Linked DNA regions of Homo sapiens: regions 1 and 2 are each linked to region 3. The links are contacts of gene promoters, found by promoter capture Hi-C in human tissues and cell types (Jung and others, 2019). All regions are on one chromosome and are shown on one strand. Each heading gives the region's core, a stretch centred on a gene start or on the middle of the fragment in contact. The rest is flanking DNA. Distances are from core to core; before and after follow the strand shown.

The links. Contacts are between HindIII fragments. The study calls those that stand out against the background at their distance.
Region 1: a contact is called between a fragment that was not itself captured here and the fragment with the promoter of POU4F2 in region 3, in 2 of the 25 tissues and cell types used here (aorta and lymphoblastoid cells).
Region 2: a contact is called between a fragment that was not itself captured here and the fragment with the promoter of POU4F2 in region 3, in 3 of the 25 tissues and cell types used here (neural progenitor cells, ovary and thymus).

The regions. Positions count from the first base shown.
Region 1 is chr4:146,766,488-146,770,257 of GRCh38, forward strand. All of the region lies in intron 11 of TTC29 (tetratricopeptide repeat domain 29), which reads right to left. Among named protein-coding and RNA genes, the nearest start is that of POU4F2, 130 kb to the left of the region's middle. The HindIII fragment of the contact is 3,038 bases long and covers 101-3,138 here.
Region 2 is chr4:146,796,375-146,800,230 of GRCh38, forward strand. The region is part of intron 11 of TTC29 (tetratricopeptide repeat domain 29); the gene reads right to left. Among named protein-coding and RNA genes, the nearest start is that of TTC29-AS1, 140 kb to the right of the region's middle. The HindIII fragment of the contact is 4,457 bases long and covers 1-3,856 here.
Region 3 is chr4:146,637,404-146,640,790 of GRCh38, forward strand. It overlaps POU4F2 (POU class 4 homeobox 2), which reads left to right and starts at 1,490. Exons shown (of 2, transcript NM_004575.3): 1 at 1,490-2,025; 2 at 2,464-3,387. The coding sequence starts at 1,738. RefSeq lists enhancers at 1-425, 426-1,007, 1,008-1,588, 1,589-2,170. The HindIII fragment of the contact is 18,734 bases long and covers 1-3,387 here.

The sequences.
Region 1 (3,770 bases), core at 370-2,869, 130 kb after region 3:
GTAGGGTTAAATATTTCTAAATAATTATTTAAATAATGTATTTCTTGCATATGGACAACCTGTCTGATAAAAAAATTAAAAAATGAATTAGTATTTTTTAGAAGTGGGTTTGTGATAAAGCTATTAGTCTCATTATTGCTAAATTACATTGCAGTGATTTTCAAAACTGGGTTAAATGACATTATGTATAGATGTACTTTAGTGTTAGGTTTTATAAGATCTTTGGCAAAGTATGAAGCTACAAGATTCAGTAAATTGTTAAATAATTTTTTCTCAATCAACTTACAACCCAAAAAGAAAATGCAGCCCCTAGGTAGGTTAGAAGGGCTTGTAACAGGGATTGTGAATTGGGAAGAAGTAGTTAGGTAGTGGGCAATTGATATTATTAGAGATAGACATTTAGAAGTTGTCCAGTCCTTAAATTAATTGTTTAAGATAAAAAAAAGATAATTGACAAATTCCAATTGGAATTCTTTTAGAATAATTCATGAAATCATCCTGTAGACAAAACATTTATTCATCATTTAGCTATTGCTTTAGCAACTTGGTATTATAGATTCCACTGGAGCTTCCCTAGGTTTCCTTCGTAACACATGTCACTTCTAGCATTTGACATGAGAAAAGAATGTTCTTTTATGATCTTAGTGCAAAGATTTCATCCTATTTATGATACTTTAAATCATTCCCCTTGTAGTTAATCATATCTGATAGCTAGAATCAGAGAGCCCTGGTTTTAGTCCTGGTTCTACCATCTTCTGCCTGGTTCACTGGGGTCAAATTGCTTAACCTCTCCAAGCTTTCATTTTCTCAACCGTAAAATGCAGCCATTTTTTAATGATGTTTTTGACAACTGCTCTGGGTCTCTCACTGTTCTGTTCTAATTGTCAATGCCTTAGATCTTTCCCTACCTTTCTTCTCCCCCAAATGAAAACTTATTGTTTTGTCCCATTGCTTCAGGGCCTTGTTAATGTGTTAGCTAACTAATAATTCCCCTCCCAGATAACAAAATGCCTTAATTTAGTGGAAGCGCACATTTCTTCTAAATGATAATAACTTATATTTGTATAAAGATCTATAGGTTGCTGTTTGGCATATATGTACTCTGTTAATTCACATAACATACCTGAAGTAGGATATTATTGTCTATATTTAGTGGATAAGTAAACTAACACTAACAAGAGCTCAAGTAAGTTTCTCAAGGATACATGCATAATTTGCGAGTCAAGCTCTAGGTCAGCTACATCTATGTGCAGTATTTGTTCTACTTCACAGTTGTAATCAATAAAATGCTCAGCTCATATTGTAAAATAGGGGAATTTCAGACCTGAATAATGTCTGCTATTGCAAAAATAAAAATGGAGAGGTCCCCCTTGTCACTCATAACTTTGTGTGTTGAAAACCATCTATTTAACATACCTGGGCTTCAGCTTCCTTACCTTTAAAATTCAAGGGTTGGATAAGGTGATCTTCTAGGTCCATTTTCATTTTAATATTCCATGATTCTATGAACATATATATTATAGCTGCAATTCCTACACCAATTTTCATTTTCTTTCCAGTTTATATCAATAGTTGTGCAGGGAATTTATTTGTCAGGAAGTAAAATAGCATTTCAAAATGTGTTATGATATGTAATTTTTTTAGAGGAAAGAAGAGAAAGTAAAGAAAATTGAGTATTAAGTTTGAAGATTCAAATAGGAGAGTGTAGCCATCATTTTCTCTTGACCAAGTAACAATTTCTGTGAGGTTGTCCTGTGTACTGACAAGTGCTTAGTTTTAGGAGGGATGTCCATAGAGCAGTCGATGAGGAAGGGGACCCTGCTTAGCTATCCCCATCAGCTAAATTAACTCCAACCATCAGTAGGTAACAAATGTGGAAATAAGATCATCAACATACTCATGGATTACATTTTGAAAAGTCAGAAGCAAAACAGTATTAAGCTGTGTAGTCAAAACCGAAGTTGCTCAAGTTAAATATAATTCTCTCTTTATTACTATAAACTGTCTGAGAAAATCTGGCTCAAATTTATAAGACAGTCTAAAAGCAAAATTAAAGAAAAAGATGACAATTTTGAAGAGATTTTTTCCCCTCCATTAACACAACTAGGCTGGCTGAGCTGTGAAACTGTGATGGAAATATTAGAGCTGTTGTGCCTGAAAAAAAATGCAGTGATCATTTCATTCTTCCTGTCTTTTAATGCTCCAGGGTTTTGGAGACGAATAGGAGCAATAAGTTCACTTTGCAGAATTAATGCAGTAATTCTTTATCATAAGAGCAGAGCATTACCTCAATCTGATTTTGCTACAAAATGGTTCAAAGTCTATTTTTAATGATGGCCCTAATTTGTTAACACCTTTTAAATTATTAATCCCCTTTATATTCAAGTAGTTATTGCATGTCATAACAATGTATCTATGCAGGGAAATTTAATAGTATTTTCTAGATGTCAAGAAAAGGCTTGTTCTGCAAAATGCTATTAAAACTGATAATGAGCTAAATATTTGCCATAGCAAACACTGAAATTACTATATCAATCAGCATTGGGCTCTCTTATTCAATAAACAGAAATTAACCTATTAACTATGCCTAACTTTCAGCGACAAAATGGTTGCTTTCAAGCATTTCTCCCCACTTCAAATCTTTCTTTCCTTAAAAACTACATATTGCCCTATAATCTCAGAATTTTGAATAAAATTCTTAGTATCGGTGTTTGTGGTTGAAATTTTGAACACATAAGACATTAAAATGTCAATCTTTTGCTGTAGTGATTGCGAATATTTTTGACTTTCCTTTTAGACAAACACTGACTTATCAGCAATAAAAATACTATATCTGATAAAAATCTAATATTCAAGCTTAATATTTTCCTGATTTCTAGAATTTTTTTAAAAAATGGTTTCTCTCTTACTTTATCAATTATGGGATTTGACTAAGTATAACTACAAAAAATATGCTAGTGAAAGGTAGTATAAGGATCTACCATTGGTTAATTCTAGCTTTTAGATACTAAAATAGGGATTAAGCATATATTTTTTATGCCTACCCAGAAGAAAGATGTAGATGCAAAAGCACTTTACACACCATTAAAAACAAAAGAAAGTCAGTCCCCACTTCTGCTGTAAGTTAAGCAATACTGAACAGATGTGTTGTCTGTCTTCACTTGGTGATATATTCTCCATCCAATAATCATTTTAGTTATACTTTGGGCCGAGAATCAGTGTTGCACAACAGTGACCCTGAATTGGGTTTAGTTCTGATGCTTTTCTGTTATTTCTTATGCAAGTTTAAGGAACTTGAACAGCTTCAGTTGCTTTCACTGTTTCTAAATTTCTAAAAAAATGATACTGCACAATAGATGATAACTGTAGTTAAGCACAATAAAAATAATGCTAAGCAATGGTGCTTTAAACTTCTCAAAGCTTTTTGTGTCTGTTTGTTACAACTCCCCTTAAGTAGGCAGGCTAAACATCATCTTTATTAAATAGATTAAAAGGCAGACCTAGAGAAGCCGATGATTTGCTCAAGCAAGTGGGGGCACTGGGAAAAGAATCTGGACTTCATGGTTTTCAGGCTTATAATTCCAGCGGTTCTCAACACTAGTTGTTCCTTAGGCTCACTTGGGGAACTTTAGAAAAAAAAAATTTCTGAATGACACTCAATTAATGCCTATTTAAATCCAAATCCCTGGTGTGAGGTCTCTGCATCAGTAGCTTTAAAAAAACTAACAGTGGAGTCTGAAGTGCAGCCAGAGTAGAGAACTCTGGGCATT
Region 2 (3,856 bases), core at 634-3,133, 160 kb after region 3:
ATCATGTAGTCTAATCACCTCTGTTGCACCCCAATTTTCAAATGAGAAACTTACACAAGGTGAGAATTTTTGTCCATAGGGACACTGAATAAAATACTTAGTATATTTAGTAATTATCCATTTAATGTCTTCTAAAACACACATCATAATAATAATGTCAACATCAACACCAATAACATGACTACTGAAAAAAAATTTTAGATTTTTTGGGTGGGAGGCATTTTTTAGGATATAATCCATTAGAGATGTATGGTCAAATTTCTCTGTTTTAAAGCCATCTGGAATTTTTCCTTCCTGTGTGATTATATCACCAACTGGATACATATTTAGGGTCATTGGCTTTATCTGTTTATTTATTTTTAGATTTTTAGAAGTTACTTTTGCTTTTTCAAAAATTTCTTTTGTTGGGGCTCCTTGTAGAAATGGTAGATTCCAGGTCTGGATGCAAAGATGTATGCCATGAGTCTGAAACAATTTCTCATAGCAAATAGAAAGCCATCAGAATCCACAAAGCTGACATTAGAAGGCCCCTTTGTGCAGTAGGCTGTGATGATCTGGGGCCCCAAAATACCCAGTATCAAAATATATCACCCACCCTTAGCCAGGTAAAGTTTGTGTAATCTAAGAAAAAAAAAGGTCAAAATTAAAAACAAATCCCTTTTAGAGGAACCCAACAACTAGGCAATGAGATATGGATGCTAAAACAGTGAGTTCCCAAAGAAGAGACTGATGAGCACTGACAACATTCAGTTCAAATATTGAGCTATGGTGGACCCCAGGCTGGCAGTTGTCTGCCTGGTGGAAACTGAAGGTGCCTCTACAAAATCAGATTTCTCCATTTAATTTACATTTACTTTCACATTTGTTATAAACCCTACAATGCGTTATTATTTGTTTGCATTAACCAATTATTTTTAAAGCAAATTTAAAAAGAAAAATTATTTTTACTGACATATTTCTAATTTTCATGTTCTTCATTTCTTTGCACAGATGCAGATTTCAAAATGAATCCCTTTTCCTTCAGTGTGTAGGACTGTAACATTTCTTGTACTGATGTTTAGTGATTAATTCTCTCAGCTTTTATATGGTTGGCAAAAGCTTTATTTTGCCTATGGTTTTGAAAGATATTTTCACTGAGTATACAATTCTAGGTTTGATGCTTATTTTTTTTTATTTCAGTACTTTAAATATCTTCTTCTGAACTGTATTTTTTACAAAGATCTTTCTGGTTTTTTTTGTTTGTCCTGTCTCTGTATGTAGTGTCCTTCCTCTCCCACCTCACCCTGGCTGCTTTAACATATTTCTTTTTATCACTGATTTCAAGCACTGACTATGGTATGCCTCCATTTAGTTTCTTCATGTTTCTTTTGCTTACAGTTTACTGGGCTTCTTAAATTCCAGTTTGTGGTTTTTCTTAAATCAAATTTGTAAAACAACTGGCCACTGATTACTTTGTTTTATATATATATATATATATATATATATATTCGTTCTCTCTTCTTTTCCCTCTCCTTTGGGGCCTCCAATTCAATCATATATTAGGCTTCTTGAAGTTGACCCACAGTTCTCTGACATTCTCTGTTCAATTTTTTTTTCAGTATTTTTTCACAGTATTTCATTGTGAATAGTTTCTATTGCTATGTCTTCAAGTTCACTAACCTTTTCCTTTGCATTGTGTAATCTGCTGCTAATCCCATTCAATTTATTTTTCATCTTGGACATTTTATTCCATGACTCTTTAAGTTCCTACTACCTACTTGAACATATGGACTATAGGATATAGGAGTGGCATCAGATTTAGGAGGGAAGAGGTAGCCACAAAGTAAAGTATATGAAGAGGAATAATCATGAGGAGAAAAGCAGGAATATTCAGAAATCAGGAGCCCCAGGAACAGCGGGGGATAGGGTAGGGTTGAGGAAATGCTAAGGGGAAGTAAGACACAGGATTGGATACAGGAGGATGAATTAAAGTCTTCAGATAAAATAGTTCACTAAGATTAGCAGCCTCAAGAGTGCCAACCAGGGAAAAGTAAAACTTTTATTATAAATTCTAGCAGAAGGATCAAATACACTTGGTCTTCCTATAGTTGTTTAATATATAATAAAAATAATGATAATAATAAGTTTCCTTTTGTGGAAACTCACAGAAGCCGATGTTTGTGGGGAGAAAAACAACAAATAAAATGCTCATGAACATCTAGATTGTACTCTTAAAGACTACAAAATACTGGCCGGGCTAGGCATGGTGGCTCATGCCTGTAATCCCAGCACTTTGGGAGGCCGAGGCAGGTGGATCACGAGGTCAGATTGAGACCATCCTGGGTAACACAGTGAAACCCCGTCTCTACTAAAAATAGAAAAAATTAGCCAGGTATTGGGGCGGGCACCTGTAGTCCCAGCTACTCGGGAGGCTGAGGCAGGAGAATGGCATGAACCTGGGAGACGGAGCTTGTAATGAGCCGAGATTGCACCGCTGCACTCTAGCCTGGGTGACAGAGCCAGACTCCGTCTCAAAAAAAAAAAAAAAAAAAAAAAAAAAGACTACAAAATACCATATTTAGTGAGAAAGATGCTCTTACTGAGAAATCATGGTCAGTTCCAGAGGAATCTTGTCGACATATATTTTGAACCTCAGGTAACAGGTTAAGGACACAAAATGAAATCTTTTGCTGAAAGTCACAAAGCTAATTAGTGCTCAATATGATGTTAGAGCTCAGATCACTGGACTCTTGACTAGTAGCCTCTCTGAATGACACCAAGCTGCCAGTAGGTGAGCTTTGATTCAGTCATATTTTTCACCAGATTCTTCTTTTTCTTTGTGTTGGTTATGAAAACATTATTAAAGACAGAGAGTTCCTCTGTGATTATAAGATGGATGAAACCTACTTGCTTGCTGACTTTTTGGCTAATTCCATGACCTCCTCCTCATTATTAAAGTTAATAACCAACAGAAGTAGCTGATTGTAATAAAAGCTGAGGATCACTAGTGAGTGTGATTTTTTTTCATTTTTTTTAAAGGGTTGAGTTCATGAATGAAAAATACAAGCAAGGAACAGGTTACAAAAACATGACTCAATATTAAGCCCAGGGACCCACATTAAGCCAACATAAACCAAGGGCTGTGAGACAAAGTCATGGTTTTGATCATTCTCTTTTAAGAATACTAAATGATGCATAAAACTACGATGATATCGTTGCCAGTCAAGGAAACCTTTACATGCCATTTTGTAGAAAACAGTGTCTTTAAGTACTGACTGCCAGCAGTTTAATCTACTATATTTCTATAGTCAGGATTTGCATCTTATTTCTCTGATGTCATTTACATTTGGCTACAATAAGAAAGTACATGAAAACCATGTTACTGATATAATTATTATCAGTGAAGTGGTTAACAATATTGGTATTTAAATGGCTATAATTACATTTCTAGGTTGACACTGCTATTAAGTTGAATATGGAAAGCTTTTGCTTCTGTGTTGCTGTTCCACATGTGGGTCTGAGATCTCCAAAAGGCCAGATGAATGAGCCTTTCATTTAAAAAAATTCTTCTTGATTGTAGAGATAATAGCTCTAGTAAGGAAAGTAAACTATATTCTGGAGAAATCAGCAGAAATTCATGGGCTCTTAAGCCTTCTGGAGCCAAACAATTTCAGTTGATTTAGGATGAACAATTTTATTGAACTGCAATCAATTTGAATTTCTTCTAAATCCCTAAGTTTGGGAGGATAATCTATTCTTATTTTAATATTGGAAAGAAAGAATAAGCACTCAGGTCTAACCATATCTAAGAGTCTTAGAATAGAATGAAGGTGCCTACATTTGCTGTGTTCCCTCTGAAAGGTATAAAGATGAGAGA
Region 3 (3,387 bases), core at 240-2,739:
TCGGGGTCCCGGGGCCTTCTCACCCTCGCCTGCACCCTGCTCCTTCCGCTCTCTAGGGAGGTGACAGCAGCCCCCAACACCGCGGGAAGTATAGAGAAAATGGGATCCAGAAGGAGAGGAAGTAGTGTGTGTGTGTGTGTGTGTGTGTGTGTGTGTGTGTGACAGAGAGAGAGAGATAGATAGAAAGAGATTATCTCCTTTTGCAACTGGAACCAAGAGTGTGTGTCCATCTCTAGGAAAAGTGGTCTGCACTGGGACTGGGACAGAAGTGGGAGTGAAGTGTCAGCTAAAAATAGGCTCCGCACCGAGAGGCTGTGGAAATGAAGATAAGTGAGGTTTGTGCCAGCCCCCGAGGGTGTGTGTGTGTGTGTCTGTGTTGTGGGGTGTATTCAGCAGCATATGCGCTGTGTAATTTCTGACCTTCCCTCTCCCTGTCAGTTGCCCCTTCTTCCTTTGATTGTGGCTAATGAAGAATAATAAATCCAGGGGCAGGGTTTGCCAGTGGATCCTTCCAAGACTCAACTCGAACTGTACTGGATACAGGGAGGAGGAGGAAGAGAAAAGGGGGGCAAGAGGAGCGTGTGTGTGTGCCTGTGTGTATGTGTGTGTGTGTTGTGGGAGGGGTGGGGACAGCGGGGAGGGGGAGGAGTCGCATGCGCACAGACGACCCGAGCCTGCTCCGCGGCTGTCCAATCCGCTGAGAGCTGCGAGAAATCGAGTGAGAGAAAGCCCTGCAGCCCCTCCGACCCCATGTCTCTTTGGCACCAGGCACCCGCCGGGCCGTGGGGGGCTCGTAGCCGAACGCCGACCTCCGCTCGTATTGGGCTGGGAGTTCAGAGCCGCGCGCAGAACCCGGGTTGGCCGCAACGTCTGTGTTCTCAGCGGTGGCCGGGAACCTGGGATCAGGGTCACCTGAGCTGACGGGGTGGGGGCGGGCCGAGTGGGGTTGGAAGCCTGGAACTTAGTGGTAAGCAGGAGGCGTAGGAGGTGGCAGCCAGGTAAGAGGCACTCTTACCTACCCAACGCTGGCTTGGGCCGCAACTTTATTTGGGAGTTTCTTTTTCCGGTGAGACAGAGACCCGGCAGAAGAAGCGGGAGGGGCTGGAGGCTGGTCCTTAGGTAGGCACTGCCCGGCGACTGGAGCGCGGACCTGGCCATTTGGGTGGGGTTGAGTGGGGGCGCGATTGTGAGTAGCAGCCGCGGGACGCTGCGAAGGGGCGGCGGCAACAGAGCACGGGCGGGGGCAGAAAAGAGGCGGCGGAGGGCGCGGTGGGGGAGCGCGAGGCGAGTGCTGAGAGAGCAGAAAGGACTCAAGCCTGAGGGGAGTAGAGAGGAAGAAGGGGCAACGCGAGAAACCGAACAGGAGCCGGCGTTTCCTGGCAAGGGAGGGCGGAGGCGCGCGGGAGAGAGGGAGAGAGGGAGGGCGGGGGGCGCGGGGGTAGGCGCGGGGAGAGGGGAGTATAACTCGCCGGCCGCGAGGAGCGGGGGCAGTTTCGGGTGCCGAGGTCTGCAGCTAGCGGCAAGCGGAGTCAGGCATCCGTTCAGACTGACAGCAGAGGCGGCGAAGGAGCGCGTAGCCGAGATCAGGCGTACAGAGTCCGGAGGCGGCGGCGGGTGAGCTCAACTTCGCACAGCCCTTCCCAGCTCCAGCCCCGGCTGGCCCGGCACTTCTCGGAGGGTCCCGGCAGCCGGGACCAGTGAGTGCCTCTACGGACCAGCGCCCCGGCGGGCGGGAAGATGATGATGATGTCCCTGAACAGCAAGCAGGCGTTTAGCATGCCGCACGGCGGCAGCCTGCACGTGGAGCCCAAGTACTCGGCACTGCACAGCACCTCGCCGGGCTCCTCGGCTCCCATCGCGCCCTCGGCCAGCTCCCCCAGCAGCTCGAGCAACGCTGGTGGTGGCGGCGGCGGCGGCGGCGGCGGCGGCGGCGGCGGAGGCCGAAGCAGCAGCTCCAGCAGCAGTGGCAGCAGCGGCGGCGGGGGCTCGGAGGCTATGCGGAGAGCCTGTCTTCCAACCCCACCGGTGCGTATTTCTGCATAATCACCGCTTAAAGGCACATTTTGACAGCCCCCTTTATCTGCTTGATGTTTTTTTCATGTCTGCACAGCAAATCACCCCACACCTCCAACCAATTTTCCCCTCTCTCTCTCTTAAGTATTCAGCAGGTCTTGCCTTTCATATTAATTTTTATGACCTGGGATGTTGCCTGTGCGCGTGTTGTGTTGTGTTTCGTTGTGTCTACAGGCTCACTTTCCTCCTCCTCCTGCACTCTCGGCTTCTTTCTGTGGCTTCCCTCTTTTTCTCTTCACCTCTGTTTTCAGGATTATTATTATTATTATTTTAACGATCTGGGAATGTTGTAGGCGCGGCGACGGTGTCGAGCCCTGGGCCGGGGCTTCCGGAGAGAGGGCGTACAATTCCCTGCTGAGCGTAATGTGTGCCTTCTACTTACAATTGCAGAGCAATATATTCGGCGGGCTGGATGAGAGTCTGCTGGCCCGCGCCGAGGCTCTGGCAGCCGTGGACATCGTCTCCCAGAGCAAGAGCCACCACCACCATCCACCCCACCACAGCCCCTTCAAACCGGACGCCACCTACCACACTATGAATACCATCCCGTGCACGTCGGCCGCCTCTTCTTCATCGGTGCCCATCTCGCACCCTTCCGCGTTGGCGGGCACGCACCACCACCACCACCATCACCACCACCACCACCACCAACCGCACCAGGCGCTGGAGGGCGAGCTGCTGGAGCACCTGAGTCCCGGGCTGGCCCTGGGCGCTATGGCGGGCCCCGACGGCGCTGTGGTGTCCACGCCGGCTCACGCGCCGCACATGGCCACCATGAACCCCATGCACCAAGCAGCGCTCAGCATGGCCCACGCGCACGGGCTGCCGTCGCACATGGGCTGCATGAGCGACGTGGACGCCGACCCGCGGGACCTGGAGGCATTCGCCGAGCGCTTCAAGCAGCGACGCATCAAGCTGGGGGTGACCCAGGCAGATGTGGGCTCCGCGCTGGCCAACCTCAAGATCCCCGGCGTGGGCTCGCTTAGCCAGAGCACCATCTGCAGGTTCGAGTCCCTCACACTGTCCCACAATAATATGATCGCGCTCAAACCCATCCTGCAGGCATGGCTCGAGGAGGCCGAGAAGTCCCACCGCGAGAAGCTCACCAAGCCTGAACTCTTCAATGGCGCGGAGAAGAAGCGCAAGCGCACGTCCATCGCTGCGCCAGAGAAGCGCTCGCTCGAAGCCTACTTTGCCATTCAGCCTCGGCCCTCCTCTGAAAAGATCGCCGCCATCGCGGAGAAGCTGGACCTGAAGAAAAACGTGGTGCGCGTCTGGTTCTGCAACCAGAGGCAGAAACAGAAAAGAATGAAA